Regions from separate parts of the Homo sapiens genome. Here all the other regions are linked to region 1. Evidence: promoter capture Hi-C in 16 types of primary human blood cells and fetal thymus (Javierre and others, 2016). All regions are on one chromosome and are shown on one strand. Each heading gives the region's core, a stretch centred on a gene start or on the middle of the fragment in contact. The rest is flanking DNA. Distances are from core to core; before and after follow the strand shown. Region 1 holds the start of TTI2 (TELO2 interacting protein 2). Region 2 overlaps GTF2E2 (general transcription factor IIE subunit 2). Region 3 overlaps GTF2E2 (general transcription factor IIE subunit 2). Region 4 overlaps GSR (glutathione-disulfide reductase). Region 5 holds the start of UBXN8 (UBX domain protein 8). Region 6 has its middle 16 kb from the start of PURG. Region 7 overlaps WRN (WRN RecQ like helicase).

Region 1 (2,760 bases), core at 179-2,678:
CTCAAAACCCAAGCAAACACCACTGGTTCCTACACCCGCCGAGCCCGAGTCTGCAGCCTCCAGCTCCCCTGGCCCGTTCCGGGCGCCGCCTGCGACCCATGCCCAAGACAGCGCTCTGCTGTCCCTGCGCACCCGGCGCCGACACTGGCGGGGCGGGCCCAAGCCGGATCCGCCAACCCGACGACCCACCTCCCTCAGGGCTGCCCCAGACGCCAGCTGGGGGCTTCTACCTTGACGCTAGAATTTGAATTTTCAAACGCTTGTGGCTACAGGCTTTAAAACGCTAGCTCCAGAAACCAGCTAAAGTATTGCATTGAACAGAAAACCAAATACCGCATGCTCTCATTCATAAGTGGGAGCTAAACATTAGGAACACGTGGACATAAAAGTGGCAACAACAGACACTGTGGTCTACTAGAGGGGGCAATGAAAACGGGCTAAGCTGCACTCCAAATCCCAGCATCCCACAACATATCCAGGTAACAAACCTGCGCAGGTATCTCCCAAACCTAAAAAATTAAAGCCATTAAAAAGCTCTGCATTGGCCAGGCGCGGTGGCTCACGCCTGTAATCCCAGCCCTTTGGGAGGCCGAGGCGGGCGCATCACGAGGTCAAGAGATCGAGACCATCCTTGCCAATATTTATACAAAAATTAGCTGGGCGTGGTGGCGCGCGCCTATAGTCCCAGCTACTCGGGAGGCTGAGGTAGGACAATCTCTCGAAAACCGGAGGTGGGGGTTGCAGTGAGCCGAGATCGCAACACTGCAACTCCAGCCTGGCGACAACGCGAGACTCCGACTCACAAAAGAACAAACACAAAAACACATTACACAGTTGGACAACGGAAAAGCACCCGTGCGTGTAGCATACAGCCAGAAAAAAGGGCACCCGAAAACGGTAAACACAAAGCCATGAAACTAGGCCACCTGTTATCATAAGTAACAAGCCCACAAATACAAGTGTTAAATCGATCCTTGAAGTTCAGGTCAGACGGGTAATGTGCCCACGTCGTAACAAGGTTCAAGGGTGGCACATCTCACACAAGCGTATGAACACCCAATCATCACGCTCATGAACTACAAAAGGATCATCTTATAGTTGACATTAAGGAGTGCCAAGTATGTGCCACTAATTTACACATAGGGTGACTACCGTAATGCGATACATCCATTCTTCACGTATAAAATCCTGGATATTTTCAAAGTCCCACTGAGATTCTGTGATTATTCTTTTGTTTCTACCTTAGCAAAGGAAAACAGAAACACAATTAGCGAGCGGATTATTATATATGCAAATTTATTCTCTATAGTTCCACCTCTCCGTCATTTTCCCGAGCCTGGATCTTTATTGCTTTACGACCATACGTCGTGAAATAAGAAGGTGTTGCGGCAGTACTGGCGGAAGCTAGCCTTGCGTTTTGCGGCAGCAATATGAGCTAGGTCCGGATCCTGTTAGACACCGGCGGGCGCGAGCCGTTGCAGGTACCTGGGGGTGGTTAAGTTGGTGACATGGCTCAGAAGTTTATTTCTTTAAATTTTTAAGTTTTTTTTCTTTTTAGTCTTCAGAAAGGCAACAGTAGTCTTTTAACGTCACTGTTAAAAGTGTAAGACTCTTTTACTCCCTGAGAGTCCCCTTTCCCTTTCTTGCGTCCTTTCCTCTTTATTCTTTTTTTTTTTTTTTTTTTTACTGAGACGGAGTCTCACTCTGTCGCCCAGGCTGGAGTGCAGTGGCGCGATCTCGGCTCACTGCAAACTCCGCCTCCCGGGTTCACCCTTTCTCTTTATTCTTATCCCGGTCAGACTCGCCCCCTCCTCCAAGACATCTCTCTGTTTTATTTTATTTGATTTTAGTTCTCTTTGGGTGATCGCTCCTTCCCTCTTCAACGGATCCCTCCCCGCCTCCATCCTCGTTCTGTGGGAGAGACCAGCCTTCTGGTGCTGCAGTCAGGAATGGAGCTTGACAGCGCTCTGGAAGCCCCATCGCAGGAAGACTCTAATTTGTCCGAGGAGTTGTCTCACTCCGCCTTTGGACAGGCCTTCTCCAAGATTTTACACTGTCTTGCCCGCCCGGAGGCACGACGAGGCAATGTAAAAGATGCAGTTCTTAAAGACCTCGGTGATCTAATAGAAGCCACAGAATTTGATAGGTTATTTGAGGGGACTGGTGCACGGCTCCGCGGAATGCCGGAGACACTGGGGCAGGTAGCAAAAGCCCTGGAGAAGTATGCAGCCCCCTCCAAGGAGGAGGAAGGTGGAGGTGATGGGCACTCCGAAGCGGCCGAGAAAGCAGCCCAAGTTGGGTTACTGTTTCTTAAACTGTTAGGGAAAGTTGAGACTGCTAAGAATTCCCTGGTCGGCCCTGCATGGCAGACGGGCCTGCATCACTTGGCAGGACCCGTTTATATTTTTGCCATCACACACAGCTTGGAGCAACCATGGACCACTCCGAGATCTCGGGAAGTTGCTAGGGAGGTGCTCACCTCACTGCTTCAAGTTACTGAATGCGGTTCTGTGGCAGGATTCCTACATGGAGAAAATGAAGATGAGAAAGGGAGACTTTCGGTGATACTAGGGCTTCTCAAACCCGACTTGTATAAGTGAGTACTCCTGCCCTTTGCCACCGACTTGAGCCTCACAGTTTTTTATTTTTATTTTTTATTATTTATTTATTTTCGAGACAGAGTTTCACTCTTGTTGCCCAGGGTGGAGTGCAATGTTGCGATCTCAGCTCACTGCAACCTCCGCCTCCTGGGTTCAAGCG
Region 2 (2,760 bases), core at 160-2,659, 2.9 Mb after region 1:
CCAGCCTGGGCGACAGAGTGAGACTCCATCTCAAATAAAATAAAATAAAATAAATAAAATAAAATTATAGATGAATTGGTACATTAGTTTCTGGGGCCATAAAGGAATGCATAGAAATATCTGTATTATAGTCATTCATTCAACAAATATTTATTGAGTGTTTACTAAGCTTGACATTGAGTTAGTAGTAGATGCCAGAGACATAAGCATCATGTCTCATAAGCACAACTGTTTGTGATTCATAATTGGCCATTTGTGTGGTGTTTGTCCTTAACACATTGTCATCTCTTTTTTCATAGTCTTCCCAGTTGTTTATACAGTTGCGTGGGGTAAGCTTAATATTATTTTACTTAAACAAGCATTAAATGTGCAGTCACAGATTTCTGTACTTTGACAAAATGGCCAGTTTCAGATGGAATAATCTGTGTAAAGGCTGTTTATTACAGGGTTTACACTGGATTTGAATCTATACTCTGCTGCTTACTACCCTCAATTTTATTATATTTAAAAGGGGACAGTAATACTTCTTAAGTTGGATTTTTTGGGAGGGATTACGTATGAATATTTACCATAGTGTTTAGCAGATAATAAATATTGGTTACTTTTATTACAGATGTGCTGAACACCTTGGGAGAATGAACTACGTAGGTAATATTTCATAATTGAAACAGTGAATGGAAAAGCACCTATAAGGCATTCTTTTTTTTTTTTTTTTTAATTTTGAGACGGAGTCTCACTCTGTTGCCAGGCTGGAGTGCAGTGGCACTATCTCGGCTCACTGCAACCTCCAACTCTCTCGTTCAAGTGATTCTCCCAAGTAGCTGAGACTACAGGCACGTGCCATTATGCCCAGCTAATTTTTGTATTTTTGGTAGAGACGGGGTTTCACCATGTTGGCCAGGATGGTCTCGATTTCCTGACCTCATGATCTGCCCACCTGGGCTTCCCAACTGTAAGGCATTCTTAATGTTATTGTTACTTTTGGAAACATGGTAGACTTCAGTGTGCCAATTAATTAAGATTGTAACAAAGTTAGTTTTAAAGGAAAATTGCATATGAAGTTTCATTTTAGTCTCAAAAAAGGATACTCAATAAAGACTTCACTAATCTCAAAGGAGTATGGTATTGCCATCTAGAAGCTGTTCTTTTGGATCTCTGACAGTTGTTACATTTGACTTGTGGTTGTTCTAATGCAATCTTTTGTTTAAATTATTATTACCAACCTGGTGCCAGAGATTGGTTCTCCTCTCCCCTTTTACTTAACCTCTCTCTTTGTGGATCAGCCACATGGGAACTTTATAATATCTGATCTCATGCCTTGCTAATAGAATGTGTACTTCTAAAATGTTTTTCTAGTATTTATGATGGATTTTTTACTGTTCCTGGTTATGACTAATGGAATGCATTTGTGATGCAGTGGTGACATTAGGGTTTCTGCTTGTAAGAATGCAACAAAATGATAGATATTTTGAAACAAATGATCTTTTGTACAGGGTTTTCCACACCAGATAGAGAAGGAGAGGGGGGTGTTTCTCAAAGTGGGTGGGTAGTGCTGTGATGCTTTTTAAAGTAAGCATCCATGTTCATGCAGTGGCAGTGCCTGTGGCTTTTTATTCCTAATTTATCTGTAAAGTTTACTTTAAAATAATTGTGATATCTTTTTTCTATTAGTTTCCATTAATTCCTATTTTTTTGGTCTTAAATTGGTAAGCAGAAATTGATGTAAAAAGTGGTATATTGAACTTTTCTTCCCTCAGAAGTAATCCACTCCTTGTGTTAGCTTTATGGATGGGATTGAGGTTTGTATTGTTTCCTTGTTTAATAAAGTGTACTTCTGATTATGGAGCGAGTCTAATCAGAGTTAAGATAAGAATGAGATAAAGGAGAAAGGGGCCTGGTGCAGTAGCTCACACCTGTAACCCCAGCACTTTGGGAGGCTGAGATGGGTGAATCTCTTGAGTCCAGGAGTTTGAGACCAGCCTGGGCAACATGGCGAAACCCCATCTCTACAAAAAATAAAAAAATTAGCCAGGCATGGTGGTGTGCACCTGTAGTCCCAGCCTCTCAGAAGGCTGAGGTGGGAGAATCACCTGAGCCTGGGAAGTTGAGGGTGTAGTGAGCTGTGATTGTGCCATTGAACTTCAGCCTGGGCAATGGGAATGCGACCCTGTCTCAAAAAATATAATAAAAAATAATGTGATAAAGATATTTATAAAAGAATTGTGGTTTGGTGTTTTAAGTTATTTATACTTTGTTTCTACCCTTAGTGAGAAAATTGGTACTTTAATGTATATACTCAAAGATTGTGTATTTTTCACCAGAATATTACAGGGTAGAATATACTAGATGAAAAACTCAAGAAATATGTTACCAGCATTAAAATTATTTTAGCTGCTCAAGAGTCATAATCACACATAATATGACGATGTTATTTTGAACTTCATTTGCAGATCATAGCAATGGATCATTTAACTTGAAAGCTTTGTCAGGAAGCTCTGGATATAAGTTTGGTGTTCTTGCTAAGATTGTGAATTACATGAAGGTAAGTACTTTTCTCAGATAGCAAAAGTCCTATTTAACTTTTTGGCAAAAGAAGGAGATTAGGGTTTTCAGAAGTTAAATTTCTGTATACATCAAAATTTATCAAAATTGTGCATTTTCAGTATGTGCAGTTTATTGTATGCCAATTATACCTCAAGCCTTTTACATTGTATTAATTTGGCATTGTGGCGAGTTACCAAAGCATATTTAATCTGCATT
Region 3 (2,760 bases), core at 130-2,629, 2.9 Mb after region 1:
AACTAATAATAAAAGGTAATTTTGTTTGGGAAGTAACTTGTTGAGATCTGTGGATTTGGAGTGCAGGTTTGAGTGACTTGAATTTGTATTAAAGACACTTATTTTTTCTTTGTAGCATTATGGATCCAAGCCTGTTGAGAGAAAGGGAGCTGTTCAAAAAACGAGCTCTTTCTACTCCTGTAGTAGAAAAACGTTCAGCATCTTCTGAGTCATCATCATCATCGTCAAAGAAGAAGAAAACAAAGGTAGAACATGGAGGATCGTCAGGCTCTAAACAAAATTCTGGTTAGTAAAATTGTTTAGGACTGTTTGGTTTTTATTCAGATTATTCAGGAGGAAACCGTTTAGTTATGGCTAGTTCATTTTTCAGTTCAGCACTCATGTTGATAGGCACTTTGTTGAATATAAAGGATGGGACAAGAGAATTTAAGCTCTTAGGATGTTAATAGTCTTGTGCTGTAGTTAAAATTTAGGTTATTACCTCTTTAAAAAAACTTTATTTAGGTTTAATTTACATACCATACAGTTCATTCATTTTAAGTTTACAGTTCAAAGATGTTTGGTAAATTTACAGAATTTTGCAGCTGTTATTACAGTCCAATTTTAGAACATTTCCATCACCCCCAGCAGATCTGATGTGCCCATTTGCAGTGACTTTTCCCATCCCTGCCCCGGAAAACCAATAATCTGCTTTCTGGCTCTGTATATTTGCCTTTTCTGGATATTTCCTATAAATGAAATTGTACAGTAAGTGGTCTTTTGTGTGTTGTTTTTTTCACTTGGCATATTTTTGAGTTCCATCCATGTAGTATGCATCAGTACTTCATTCCATTTTTATTGGTAAAGCGTATTCCATAGTATGGATATATGTACCACAGTTTGTTTATCCATTCACCAATAAACGGTTATTTGGATTATTTTCACTTTTTGGCTGTTTTGAATAGTGTTGGTATGAATATTCATGTACAAGTCTTTGTGTAGACATATCTTTTTATCTCTTTTGGATAGAGACCTAGAAGTAGATTTCTGGGTCATATGTCAAATTTATATTTAACTTGTTAAGAAACTGCTAAAATAGCTGTACCATTTTATATTTCCTCCAGCAATGTATCAGGGTTCTAGTTTTTTCTCATCCTTGCTAACGCTTGAAATTCTGTTTTTTTTTTTTTAATCATAGCTATTTCTATAGTTGTGAAGTTCTATCATTGTGGCTTTAATACGCATTTCCTTAATGAGTAATGATGTTGAACATTGTTTCATGTGCTTATTGACCATGTGTATTCCTTGGTGAAATGTCTATTCAATTTTTTTTTGCCCATAAAAAAAACTGAGGTATATTTCCTCTCTCTATTGATTTAATAATTCTTCATATATTCTGGCTACCATTCTTTGATCTGGTATACATTTGCAAATATTTTCTCCAAGCAAGTGCTTGTCATTTTATCTTCTTAATAGTGTCTTTGTATGTACAAAAGTTTTTAATTTTGATGAAGTCCACCTTACCAGTTTTTTTCTTTTATCATTTGTATTCTTGGTGTCATATCTAAGAAATCTTTGCCTGACACAGGTCATGAAAATTTTTTTCTGTGTTTTCCTCTAAGAGTTTTGTAGTTTTAGCTCCTGCATTTAGGTTTGTAGTATATTTGAGTTGATTTTTGTGTATGGATTAGCATAAGAGTCAAAATTTATCTTTTTGCGTGTTCTTATGAAGTTGTCCCAGCATCATTTTTTGAAATGATGATCTTTCCCCTGTTGAATTATATTGCGCCCTTGTTGAATATTAGTAGACCATAAATCAAAGAGTTTATTTCTGGAGTCTTAGTTTGGTTCCATTGACTTCTGTGTTTATCTTTATGCCAGTATCATTTCTCTTGAGTGCTGTAGCATTGTAATTAAGGTTTGAGACTGAGAAATGTAAGTCCATCAACTTAGTTCTTTTTTATTTCAAGAATTGTTTTAGTTTTTCTGCATAAATTTTAGGGTCAATCTATCAACATTTGCAAAAAAGCCTGCTGGGATTTCCATAGGGATTGAATTGAATCTATAAATCAATTTGGGGAAGAACTGCCATCTTAACAATATTAGATCTTCCAGTCAATGAATAGATGGCTTTTTACAAATTTTTTGTAGAGACAGGATCTTGCTCTGTTGCCCAGGCTGGTCTCAAACTCCTGGCCTCAAGCAATCTTCCTACCTCAGCCTCCCAGAGTGTTGGGATTATAGGTGTGAGTCATTACACCCAGCGGTTATTTTATTCTGATTCAATCTCACTTATGAATGAAATTGTTTTCTTTGATTTTTTTTTTTAAATTGTTCATTGCTAGTATATAGAAACAAGAGTTTTTTTTAATACATTGATCTTGTATTCTGTAACCTGACTGAACTTGTTTTTTATTTCTCGTAGTTTTTTGTGTGGTTTCCCTAGGATTTTCTATGTCAAGATTATGTCATCTGTGAATAAGAACAGTTTTCTTTCTTTCTTTCCGGTGTGAACTTTTTAATTTTTATTTATCTTGCCTGTCTGGACTGGCTGTACATTGAATAGTAAAAGTAGCTACCTTTGCCTTGTTCCTGATCTTAGGGGCAAAGCATTCGGTTTTTCACTCTTACGCATGATATTACTGCAGGTTTTTGTACATGCCCTTTCCAGTTGAAGAAGTTCCTTTCTATTTCTAGTTTGTTGAGAGGTGGTTTTTTTTTTTTTGAGACGGAGTCTTGCTCTGTTGCCCAGGCTGGAGTGCAGTGGCGCAATCTCAGCTC
Region 4 (2,760 bases), core at 74-2,573, 2.8 Mb after region 1:
CACCAAGCTTCAAGGAATAGCCCCATAAATGCATCTTTGGACACGGGAGCATAATATGTGACTACTTTTCTAGGTTACTGTAAAAGTAGAATTGCTGGGCCAATCAGGATATGTTTGCTAACACTAGTTATAGTCAACCTTTAAAATTTTTGCCAATCTGACAGATGAAAAATATTTCATTATTTAAATTATCTTTTATCTTTACTTTTAAAAAATGTAGATTTCGTCTGGGCGTGGTGGCTCATGCCTGTAATTCCAGCACTTTGGGAGGCCAAGGTGTGTGGATCACTTGAGGTCATGAGTTCGAGACCAGCCTGGCCAACAAGGCGAATCCCCATCTCTACTAAAAATACAAAAATTAGCCAGGCAGGATGGCAGGCGCCTGTAATCTCAGCTACTCGGGAGGCTGAGGCATGAGAATTGCTTGAGCCTGGGAGGCAGAGGTTGCAGTGAGCTGAGATCTTGCCACTATACTCCAGCCTGCGCGATATAGTGAGACTCAGTCTCAAAAAAAAAACAACCAAACAAAAAAATAATGTAGTTTTCTGGCTGGGCACAGTGGCTCATGACTGTAATCCCAGCACTTTGGGAGGCTGAGGCAGGTGGATCACCTGAGGTCAGTAGTTCGAGACCAGCATGGCCAACATGGCAAAACCCCATCTCTACTGAAAATACAAAAATTAGCTGGGCATGGTGGTGCACACCTACAGTCCCAACTATTCAAGAGGCTGAGGCAGGAGAATCGCTTGAATCTGGGAGGTGGAGTTTGCAGTAAGCTGTGATCGCACCATTGCACTCCAGCCTGGGCAACAAAGCGAGACTCCGTCTCAAAAAAAAAAAAAAGTAGTTTTCTGAGTCTTGCTTTTTCTACTTTTATTCCATAAGTGTATTTCTATATATTAACTAAGAGTGAAATGGAAATGATTGTAACCAAATATGTATTTGTACATAACATGATAATCTGTGCATTTGTGCATTTCGCTTTTCTACATCTTTGGTTACTTCTTTAGGCCAAATGCCTAGTAGTTATAAATCAAAGTCATTTTATGAGATCTAATATTTATTTAGGTTTTCTCAAGTTTCTGTACTAATGGTTAATCAATATCCTAAGTTCCATGCCATGTACTTTAAATTTTTGTGCTTTTGGTGAGTATTCACCAGTATCTCAATGTTCAGCCTTTCTTTGTGTGTGTGTTTCTTTTTTGAGGCAGAGTCTTTCAGTGTCACCCAGGCTGGAGTGCAGTGGCATGATCATGATCATGGCTTACTGCAGCCTTGTCTTTCCAGGCTCAAAGGGTCCCCCCACCTCAGCCTCCTGAGTAGCTGGGACCACAGGCATGCACCACCACACCCAGCTACTTTTTTTTGTAGAGACGTGGTCTCGCTTGTTGCCCAGGCTGGTCTCGAATTCATGGGCTTAAGCAATCCAACTGCCTCAGCTCCCAAAGTGCTGGAATTACAGGTGTGAACTACCAAGCCCTGGCCCATCTTGGGTGTTTATCCATGTATTCTGCAGTACTTTCCCGAGAAGTCCTCTTAGACAGCAGCTCAAATGGGCTGATTGTTCTTTCTCCGTCCAAGAAAAATGCTGATGAATGAACTTCTCTCCCTCATTACAGAAGGAAAATAATGTTCTTATCTTTTTGTAACAAAGAAAGTAACTAGAATTTAGTACACTGTGACTTAGAACCCAAGGAAGACTCCTCGCTTGATGCTTAGCGTGCATTTCTTGCAGATTTCGTTTGATGGTTTGAATTCAATATTCTTAAAGTGTGTCTCTTTTTTTTTTTTCCAGGTGAATGTTGGATGTGTACCCAAAAAGGTAGAATTTTTATTTCTCTTTCCCTTTACAATCCTTTTTCTATTTGGTAAATCATAATCAAAATCAGAATGTTTCCAAATAGATCAGTTAAAATTCTTTCTGCAAAAAAAACCCCTAGACCCTACTAAAAGTAGCTTAAGCAATAGGATTGTTTTTGTTTGATTTGTGTTTTTTAAATTTTTTTATTTATTTTTAATTACTTTTTATTTTTATTATTATTGTTTTTTTGAGACGGAGTTTCGTTCTTGTCACCCAGGCTAGAGTACAGTGGCGCGATCTTGGCTCACCGCAACCTCTGCCTCCTGGGTTCAAGTGATTCTCTTGCCTCAGCCTCCCAAGTAGCTGGGATGACAGGCGTGCGCCACTGCACTTGACTGATTTTTGTATTTTTAGTAGAGATGGGGGTTTCACCGTGTTGGCCAGGCTGGTCTCGAACTCCTGACCTCAGGTGATCTGCCCACCTCAGCCTCCCAAAATGCTGGGATTATAGGCATGAGCCACAGACCCCAGCCAAGGCCTGGTCATCTACACCACAGGATAGTTTTTTCTCAGCAAAAAGACCCAGCCAGCAAACCAAACTGTTGAATGGAATCTTCTCAAGTTCTGTGGGTTCATGGATTTTCTGTATCACATTAGTGATTTTTTCGTTGTTAATATCTGTGGTGCAGGTCACATTGAATGAATTCATTTTTTTTACCCTTGACAAAGAGGAAAAAACAGCAGCTCTTATTTGTAAAGCTGCCTCTTGCTTATACTTGCAAAGAATTTTACCACTCATTTGAATGTACTTTCAACATATGTTGTAATCTCAAGCTTACCACCTTTATTAATGACATTCCATTTTAACTTGTCATCTTTTTGGTATTATATAAGCAAATCTCCTAATCTCATCAGTGATGCATACCTGAGTTTAATTCCAAAAAGTCTTTTTGAAGTCT
Region 5 (2,760 bases), core at 116-2,615, 2.8 Mb after region 1:
ACCCTGTCTCTAAAAACAAAACAAAAAACTTCTCAGCCTAAATTCTCACAAGACCTTCATCTTATCAACCTGTTTATTTCCTTTTCAGTGTTCGCCAGGATGCGAAAGCACTGTCTATGATTGCCCCTGTGCTCTTTGCCTCTACCCTCTTACACGTAAAACCATCACACCTGGAGGGAAAAGGTTCCTCGAAGTGAAGTCAGCTCCGGAAGTGGGGGGGCAGGGGCGATGCAGTCTGGGAGTTGTAGTCAAAGCTGCTCCGAAGCCACGCAGCCGAAGAGGCGGTCGTTCTATGCAACATTCCTGTGAAAATTACCCAGCTGTGACTGTCGAAGGGAAAAAGTCACACTTACCTATATCCGGGATCCCACGCCGGAGCTCCAGACACACAAGGGGGACAGCAGAGAGGAAGAAAATGCCAACAACCCCACGTGAAGCCATGGTGGCGGAAGCGCCTGGTGCAGGCGGAAAGCCCGCCCCTTCCGGCCGCGTTTTCCGGGAAGGAAGTGGAACTCTTCTTGCCGCGGGCCGGCTGGGAGAGGGTCAATAACGTGGTAAATACTGACGGCCGTGTCGTTATTGAGGGGGAGCTAAGCCCCGTGTTTTAAAGTTATAGTCTGTAGCCGTGTTTCAGAAGAAAGGCAAGTCGTCCCCCAAGTCACATGATGTCCAGAGGAGCCTGGGCTCTAGAGCGGTGGCTCCCTGGAGGGTAGCAGGGCAGGGGCTGCCCCTTCGGTCTTTGCAGCGTCTGTGAGAAAGCGCTTTCCAGAGGGAAATGAAGCCGAAGAAAAAGCTGATGCTGTGAGGAGGCAGCCTGGGCCCCCCGGCCTTGTGGCCGTATAGGATGAATGTGGGCTATAACACCTTCCTTATCTCCCTAACGGTTCCTGGTTCCTGGCCCCGTCCGCAGTCTCTGGTTCCTGCGGAAAGACAACTCGAAAGTGGGGCCTGGCTCCAAATACCTGCCCCCTAACACGCACGTCCTAATGCCAGGTCCTGGAGACCCGCTACCCCTTGTTCCGCCCCTTTTCAGTTTTGCCTGCACGCGTTATTGTTAACCTTGACTTCATAGTTCCATGACCTCATTGCCGTCCTATAACTCACCACTGTGCACTTCTCCCAAGCTACTGAGGTCCTCCCAATCTACAACATTTCGTACTTGGAAATTATCTTTCCTGGCCAGGCGCGGTGGCTCACGCCTGTAATCTCAGCACTTTGGGAGGCCGAGGCGGGCGGATCACAAGGTCAGGAGTTCCAGACCAGCCTGGCAAATATGGTGAAACCCCGTCTCTACTAAAAATACAAAAATTAGCCGGGTGTGGTGGCGGTCGCCTGTAATTCCAGCTATTCGGGAGGCTGAGGCAGGAGAATTGCTTGAACCCGCATGCGGAGGTTGCTTTGAGCCGAGTTTGCACCACTGCACTCCAGCCTGGGCGACAGAATGAGACCCCGTCTCAAAAAAAAAAAAAAAAGAAAGAAAGAAATTATATTTCCTGGCTAAGCGCGGTGGCTCACGCCTGTAATCCCAACACTTTGCAAGAAAAAAGAAAATTCTTTTTCCTGACCCATCCATCTAGCATCCCACCTGACTATTCAGTTTAGTTCATCTGAAATTTATTGAGCTCCACAGTTTGGTACTCTACAACTCTTGGATATTCAAATATTTACAAGTTACTGAATTTGTCCTCAAGAAACTCAGCTTATCCGACTTTGTGGTTCTATGGAGAAGAAAAAAAAAAACTGGGAAAGATAGCCCTGTAAGCAAATAAACATAATGCAGTTCCTGAGTGCTATGATAGAGATATACACAGGGTGTTGCAGAACCATACCCAGAAGGCTTGCAAAAGGCTTTCCAAAAGGAAGTCACGCCTACGTTGTGTTCAAAGGTTAGGAATCTGGGCAAGGATGTCCGGGAAGGGTGGGATTTCAAGTTTAGGAACCTGAGTGCAAAGGAACTACCAGTGATTATTGCTGCAGTTTAGAGCTTGAGGCCGGGCGCGGTAGCTCACTCCTGTATTCTCAGCACTTTGGGAGGCGGAAGGAGGCAGATTGCTTCAGCTCAGGAGTTCGAGACCCCTCTGGGCAACATAGCTAAACCTGTCTAAAAAAAAAAAATAGCTGCGCGTGATGGCGTAGCCTGTGCTCCCAGCTACTCAAGAGGCTGAGGTGGGAGAATCACTTGAGCCCAGGAGGTCAAGTCTGCAGTGAGCTGAGATCATGCCAGTGCACTCCAGCCTGGGCGATATAGTGAGACCCTGTCTCTAAAAATAAAATAAAGCTGAATGAAGGCTTTTAGAGGTAGATTGTTGCTAGGGCCGCAGAGGCTTTCCTTTGTATATAGGCTAAGAACTTTATCCTCCAAGCAAAGGTGCAAAATATTAGGGCACAATCTGAAGATCAGTAAGGGTGAGGTAATATAAATTACAGCATGACATACCATAAAATAATTAATTATATTGACTAGTTCAGATGTTCCCATAGTTGTCTGTATCTTGTGTTCATCATGCATAAGGAGGAAGACAGGAAAGAAAGTTCTACAGTCTGTATCTTGTGTTCATCATGCATAAGGAGGAAGACAGGAAAGGAAGTTCTACAGTTCTTAACCACCTACCTCCTGTATTTTTTTCTTCCTCCCTGGTCTTCCATATTACCTAATTTAATCTGTTGATGGCGCCATTGAATCTCTCTCTGGACTACAAAAGGCAGTTCCTAACCAATCCAAATTTACCTTGTCTTAACATATGGGAAGCCAGCATTTCC
Region 6 (2,760 bases), core at 74-2,573, 2.5 Mb after region 1:
CCCAGGCTGGAGTGCAGTGGCGCGATCTCGGCTCACTGCAAGCTCCGCCTCCCGGGTTCATGCCATTCTCCTGCCTCAGCCTCCCGAGTAGCTGGGACTACAGGCGCCCGCCACAACGCCTAATTTTTTCTATTCTTTAGTAGAGACGGGTTTTCACCATGTTAGCCAGAATGGTCTCGATCTCCTGACCTCGTGATCCGCCCGCCTCAGCCTCCCAATAATAAAACCATATTTTATGTCTAAATCTATATAATATCTATAACTATATATAAACCTTAATGCTGTCATTCTAGTGGATTACATTGTATTGAAGTATTAAATTAATTCATACATAGACATTTGGCAGTTCTGCAAGTTCATTGACTTCTCTTAACAGCTACTACCTTTGAATGATTAGCACTCCAGAACACTGAATGAGTTCCTAATTGTGAAAATGATTAACTAACTGCTGACATAACAGAGATAGTCACAAACTCAAATGGATCATTACAGGCAATGTAACTTTTTTAAAAATTCTCTATTCATTTGCATTATGGCTACAAGATAAATTTTAGATTTAAAAAAATTAAGTGTTAGAATTATACTTTGAGTAGGCTTCAGGCAGAATAAATTTATAGTAGACTTCAGCTCAACATTAGGGCAAACTTTAAGGATTGCATGACTTCTCTGCTCCTGGAATTAATTATTTAGGCACGCACTGAATGTGGGATGCATAAAGGGAATTAATAAATCAGAAAAGGTGAATTGTTATGGCTCAGATTCTTCTCCACTCTGAGGGATTCAGAATTTATTGGAAATAATCATTGGAACTTTTGCCTTCAGGCCTTCTGTTAATTTACTGGTTTGGATAAAGAAGTGTGATTTCAAATTTTCTAATATTATTGTGAAAACATATAAAGAAAAGAAATCCTTCTTCCCATCCTTTGTTATTGCAAAACAACGTAAGAACTAGGTTTTAAATTTTCATGAACTTTATTAATTAAATGACTAGTTAAATAGAATTTATGAAATTTATTCTGTAAGATTAAGTCTACCTTTTATAATCTTCAAAGAAACTTTTCACTTTCAATCTGTTTTCAAAAATATGAAGGAATAAATTTAGTATTTATAGTGCTATTTCAAAAGTACCTGCTGTCGGTTTATTTAGAATGACACAAGAGGCAATAGGGTAAATTGGAAAACCAAATTATTGGATATTATCAAATTTTTTCTTTATAAAATTCACATTAAATTCTGTTTAAAAGTCGAAACATCTATAATATCTTTCTCCATTTTTTCTTGCACTGCTAATTAAGGTGGAAAGAAGCAACATCGTTTGCTAATTTCATCTTAAATTTTTTGTTTTAGACAACAAGTTTCCAAGTAAGTTCATTATTGCTACAAATGCAATCATATCTAAATTCAGGACCTAGTGAATTCATATGAAACTCGATTCTGCCTGGTGGTGTCCACTTTTTTCTTGTCACTTCTTCTAATCATCTGTGCTTTCTTGTGATACTGTAACATTTCCAGATTTCAAGTGGGCAAATAGTAGCTTTTATGGAGAGATCTGAGTGATTTAAATGTTATCACACAAACATCTATAAACTATATTGCACATTTCTAAATATTTGGCTAAGCAAATTTTATTCCTCCAGATAAATATTACATACCCTTTATATATAATAGATAGATATAGATATAGATATATAATCTCTTATAGAGAGTATGTGTAATATATATTAAACATACATATATTGCACATGCATATATATACAATTTTTTACATATATATGTAAAAATTTTTAAAAGAGATCCCAATCCTATTCACCTTTTTCTTGTCCCTGGAGAAGTAGTGGTAAATGGGTTTCATCTCGCTTGTATTTGCAATTGATTGGCTGCCCTAAAGTGCTGTGTTTGTATCTACAGGGAGAGGGAAAAAACAGTGTTCATGCCAAATATTTGCTATTTATCATTCCTGCTTTAGAGACATAAAAGTTTTCATTGTAGCTCTAAAAATTTCTAGCTTAGCCAGATAGCTGGCAGTTGCAGCACAAACTACCATGTGACTCACCTGGAATGTGTCTCTTCTAATATGTGAAAGAGATTATTTGAAATCTCTTTCCTTTTTTCTTTTTTCTTTTGATCATCTCTCCTTTAAAAGAGCAGAGCATCTCCACTATGCCTCTGAGAAACTAGAATGATGGCCATGATGATGTCATCAAAGATACTCTTAAGTATTAAACTCTACATTTGCTTCTAATGAGTTCTAACCCCCATTAAAATGACAGCAGTTGCATCCTTTAAAATTTAGTCCAGTGATTCTCAAACACAAGTGTGCAGGTGTATTAAATAAAAATACAGGTTTGGTCCCCATCCTCAGAGATTCTGATTTGATTGGTTCAAGAGAGGGGTTCAGAAATTGGCATTTTTCATCGTCTTACTCATTCTGATACAAGTGGTCTGGAAGCCACTCTTTGTCATTCACTTAGACTGTGGACTTGCGTTCTTTCTTTTTTTTTTTTTTTTTTTTTTTTTTTTGGTTCTTGGTAGACTTGCATTCTTTCTTCCATATCGTTTTTCCAGCACAAATTGCTTAAGTTTTAAATACTGTCAGTCATGACACCATGGAATGATGATTTTTTTGGTTACAATATTAATAAGTAGTATCCAGGGCTCACTTTATTTTATTTATTTATTTATCTATCTATGTATTTATTTATCTATTTATTTATTTATTTTTGAGACAGAGTCTCACTCTGTTGCCCAGGCTGGGGTGCA
Region 7 (2,760 bases), core at 109-2,608, 2.5 Mb after region 1:
TGCAGAAATGGAAAAGGTGATCCTCAAACTCATCAGAATTGCAAGGGACCCCAAATAGCCAAAATAATCTTGAAAAGAAGAACAAAGTTGGAGGACTCATGTTTCCCAATTTCTAAACTTACTACAAAGCTACTGTAATCAAAACAGTGTGGTACAGGCATAAGGACAGAAATATAAATACAATAGAATAGAATTGAGATTCCAGGAGTAAATCCATACATTTACCACCAATTGATTTTTGACAAGGGTGCCAAGTCCATTCAGTGGGGAAAGAATAGACTCTTAAACATGTGGTGCTGGGACAACTGGATCTCCATATGGAAAAGAGTGAAGTTGGACCCCTACCTCACACCATATACAAAAATAACTTAAAATGTATCACACTAATATACAAGAATTTACTTAAAACTCCAATAGAAAAAGTAAAACTATAAAACTATTAAAAGAAAACATAACAGAAAATCTTCATGGCATTGGATTTGGGAATTAGGTATGATGCCAAAAGCATAGGTAATAAAAGAAAAAACAGATAAACTGGACTCTATAAAAATTTAAAAGTGAATCAAAGAACAATATCAAAAAGTGAAGAAAACCCACAAAATGGGAGAAATTATTTGCAAATCATACACCCAATAAGGGTTTAATATTCAGAATATATAAAGATCTCCCACAATTCAACAGAAAAAAAAACTCAATTAAAAAATGGGCAAAGGACTTAATAGACAGTTCCCAAAGAAGACATATAATGGCCAATAAGCACATTAAAAGATGCTCAACATCATTAGTCATTAAAGAAATACAAAATAAAACCACAGTAAGATACCACTTCCCACCACCTACTAGGATAGCTATAATTTTTAAAAAAGGAAATTAAGTTTTGGTGAGCATATGGAGAACTGGAACACTTGTACACTGCTCCCATGGAAAAACAGTTTTAGCAGTTCCTTAAAAAGCTAAACTAAAAGCTTACCATGTGATCTAGTAAGTCCACACGTAGGTATATTCCCAAAAGAATTGAAAATAGGAACTCAAACAGATTCTTGTACACCAATGTTAATAACAGCATTATTCACAATAGCCAAAAGGTGGAAACAACCTAAGTGTCCATCAACATATGAATAAATAAATATGGCATATATATAATATAAACAAATGGAATATTATTCAGCCATAAAAAGAAATCGAGTTCTGATACATGCCACAACATGGGTGAACCTTGAAAACATTATCCTCACAAAAGACTCTGAATAGCCAAAGCAATGTTGAGCTAAAAGAACAAAGCTAGGGGCATCACACTACCTGACTTCAAAATATACTAAACTCTAGTAATTAAAACAGCACGGTACTGGCATAAAGAGACACACAGATAATAGAACAGAACAGAGACCCAAGAAATAAAACCACATATTTATAGCCAACTGATTTTTGACAAAAGAGCCAAGAACCCACAATGGGGAAAGGTCAGGCTCTTCAATAAACGGTGTTGGGAAAACTGATAACCATATGCAAAAGAATGAAAGTAGTCAATTATCTCTCACCACATACAGCATCAACTCAAAATGGACTAAAGACTTAAATGTAAGACCCCAAACCATGAAACCACTTGAAGAAAACACAGGAAAAAAGCTCCCTAACATTGGTCAGGGCTAGAGGTTCCCAACCCCAGGGCCACAGATTAGTACCAGTCCATGGCCTGTTAGGAACCAGGCCACAAAGCAGTAGGTGAGCAGCAGGCAAGCAAGCGAAGCTTCATTTTTCTTTACAGCTGCTCCCCATTCCTCACGTTACCACCTGAGCTCCACCTCCTGACACATCAACGGTGGCATTAGATTCTCATAGCAGCGCAAAACCTACTGTGAATTGCGCATGCAAGGGATCTAGGTTGTATGCTCCTTAGAAGAACCTAATGCCTTATGAACTGTCACTGTCTCCCATCACTCCCAGATAGGACCCTCAAGTTTCAGGAAAACAAGCTCAGGGCTCCCAGTGATTCTACATTATGGTGAATTGTATAATTATTTCACTATATATTACAATGTAATAATAATAGAAACAAAGTGCACAATAAATGTAATGCGCTTGAAATATCCTGAAACCATCCCCTCCCTCCTGTGGATGGAAAAATTGTCTTCGATGAAACCAGTCCTTGGTACCAAAAAGGTTGGGGACTGCTGATCTGGGCAATGATTTTTTGGATATGACTTCAAAAGCAAAGGTAACAAAAGCAAAAATAGACAAAGGGATTACATCAAAATAAAATGCTTCTCTGCACAGCAAATTCAACAGACTGAAGACAGAATCTACAGAATCGGATAAAATATTTGCAAACTATACATCTAATAAGAGGTTAATTTCCAAAATGTTTAAGGATGTCAAACAACTCAATAGCAAAAAAATAAAAAAATTAAAAAACCATATTTAAAAAATGAGCAAAAGACCTGAATAGACATTTCTCAAAAGGAGATATACAAATAACCAACAAGTATATGAAACATTGCTCATCAATAACCATCAGGGAAATGTAAATCAAAATCACAATGAGATATCACCTCACACCTGTTAGAATGGCTATTACCAAAAAGACAAAAGATAAGTGTTGGCGAGGATGTGGAGAAAAGGGAACTCCTTCCTCGCTGTTGGTGGGAATGTAAATTATTACTAACATTATGGAAATAACTCAAAATATTAAATGTAGAACTACAAGCGGGTCCAGCAAATCCACTACAGGGTATATATTCAAGGGAAATGAAATCAGTATGT

What was found. The method cuts DNA at HindIII sites, captures the fragments that hold promoters and counts their contacts. A CHiCAGO score of 5 or more calls a contact.
Region 2: a fragment that was not itself captured here is called in contact with the fragment with the promoter of TTI2 in region 1 in 1 of 17 cell types (non-activated CD4 T cells); the score reaches 5.3 in non-activated CD4 T cells.
Region 3: a fragment that was not itself captured here is called in contact with the fragment with the promoter of TTI2 in region 1 in 3 of 17 cell types (neutrophils, activated CD4 T cells and non-activated CD4 T cells); the score reaches 6.1 in neutrophils.
Region 4: a fragment that was not itself captured here is called in contact with the fragment with the promoter of TTI2 in region 1 in 2 of 17 cell types (neutrophils and non-activated CD4 T cells); the score reaches 8.3 in neutrophils.
Region 5: a contact is called between a fragment that was not itself captured here and the fragment with the promoter of TTI2 in region 1, in 1 of 17 cell types (naive CD8 T cells). The highest score is 6.2, in naive CD8 T cells.
Region 6: a contact is called between a fragment that was not itself captured here and the fragment with the promoter of TTI2 in region 1, in 2 of 17 cell types (neutrophils and non-activated CD4 T cells). The highest score is 7.4, in neutrophils.
Region 7: a contact is called between a fragment that was not itself captured here and the fragment with the promoter of TTI2 in region 1, in 9 of 17 cell types (total CD4 T cells, non-activated CD4 T cells, total B cells and 6 more). The highest score is 13.2, in total CD4 T cells.

Annotation. Positions count from the first base shown.
Region 1 is chr8:33,511,803-33,514,562 of GRCh38, reverse strand. It overlaps TTI2 (TELO2 interacting protein 2), which reads left to right and starts at 1,428. Exons shown (of 8, transcript NM_001102401.4): 1 at 1,428-1,481; 2 at 1,851-2,596. The coding sequence starts at 1,950. SNORD13 (small nucleolar RNA, C/D box 13) reads right to left here and starts at 1,088; the gene lies at 985-1,088. RefSeq lists a silencer at 777-826 and an enhancer at 1,257-1,396. The HindIII fragment of the contact is 19,476 bases long and covers 1-2,760 here.
Region 2 is chr8:30,634,814-30,637,573 of GRCh38, reverse strand. GTF2E2 (general transcription factor IIE subunit 2) reads left to right here. Exons shown (of 8, transcript NM_002095.6): 3 at 2,451-2,542. Among named protein-coding and RNA genes, the nearest start is that of SMIM18, 2.4 kb to the left of the region's middle. The HindIII fragment of the contact is 2,146 bases long and covers 337-2,482 here.
Region 3 is chr8:30,650,958-30,653,717 of GRCh38, reverse strand. It overlaps GTF2E2 (general transcription factor IIE subunit 2), which reads left to right. Exons shown (of 8, transcript NM_002095.6): 2 at 116-285. The coding sequence starts at 120. Among named protein-coding and RNA genes, the nearest start is that of GTF2E2, 5.9 kb to the left of the region's middle. The HindIII fragment of the contact is 6,292 bases long and covers 1-2,760 here.
Region 4 is chr8:30,711,124-30,713,883 of GRCh38, reverse strand. GSR (glutathione-disulfide reductase) reads left to right here. Exons shown (of 13, transcript NM_000637.5): 2 at 1,796-1,822. Among named protein-coding and RNA genes, the nearest start is that of GSR, 15 kb to the left of the region's middle. The HindIII fragment of the contact is 2,628 bases long and covers 10-2,637 here.
Region 5 is chr8:30,741,871-30,744,630 of GRCh38, reverse strand. UBXN8 (UBX domain protein 8) reads right to left here and starts at 467. Exons shown (of 8, transcript NM_005671.4): 1 at 354-467. The coding sequence starts at 441. It overlaps LOC105379356 (a long non-coding RNA gene), which reads right to left. Exons shown (of 2, transcript XR_005646967.2): 2 at 559-920. It overlaps LOC105379355 (a long non-coding RNA gene), which reads left to right and starts at 954. Exons shown (of 2, transcript XR_949634.2): 1 at 954-1,886. RefSeq lists enhancers at 499-578, 1-784, 819-958. The HindIII fragment of the contact is 4,701 bases long and covers 1-2,760 here.
Region 6 is chr8:31,016,342-31,019,101 of GRCh38, reverse strand. It overlaps a transcript of PURG not described here. Among named protein-coding and RNA genes, the nearest start is that of PURG, 16 kb to the left of the region's middle. The HindIII fragment of the contact is 5,501 bases long and covers 1-2,760 here.
Region 7 is chr8:31,036,348-31,039,107 of GRCh38, reverse strand. The region is part of intron 1 of WRN (WRN RecQ like helicase); the gene reads right to left. Among named protein-coding and RNA genes, the nearest start is that of WRN, 3.9 kb to the right of the region's middle. The HindIII fragment of the contact is 782 bases long and covers 968-1,749 here.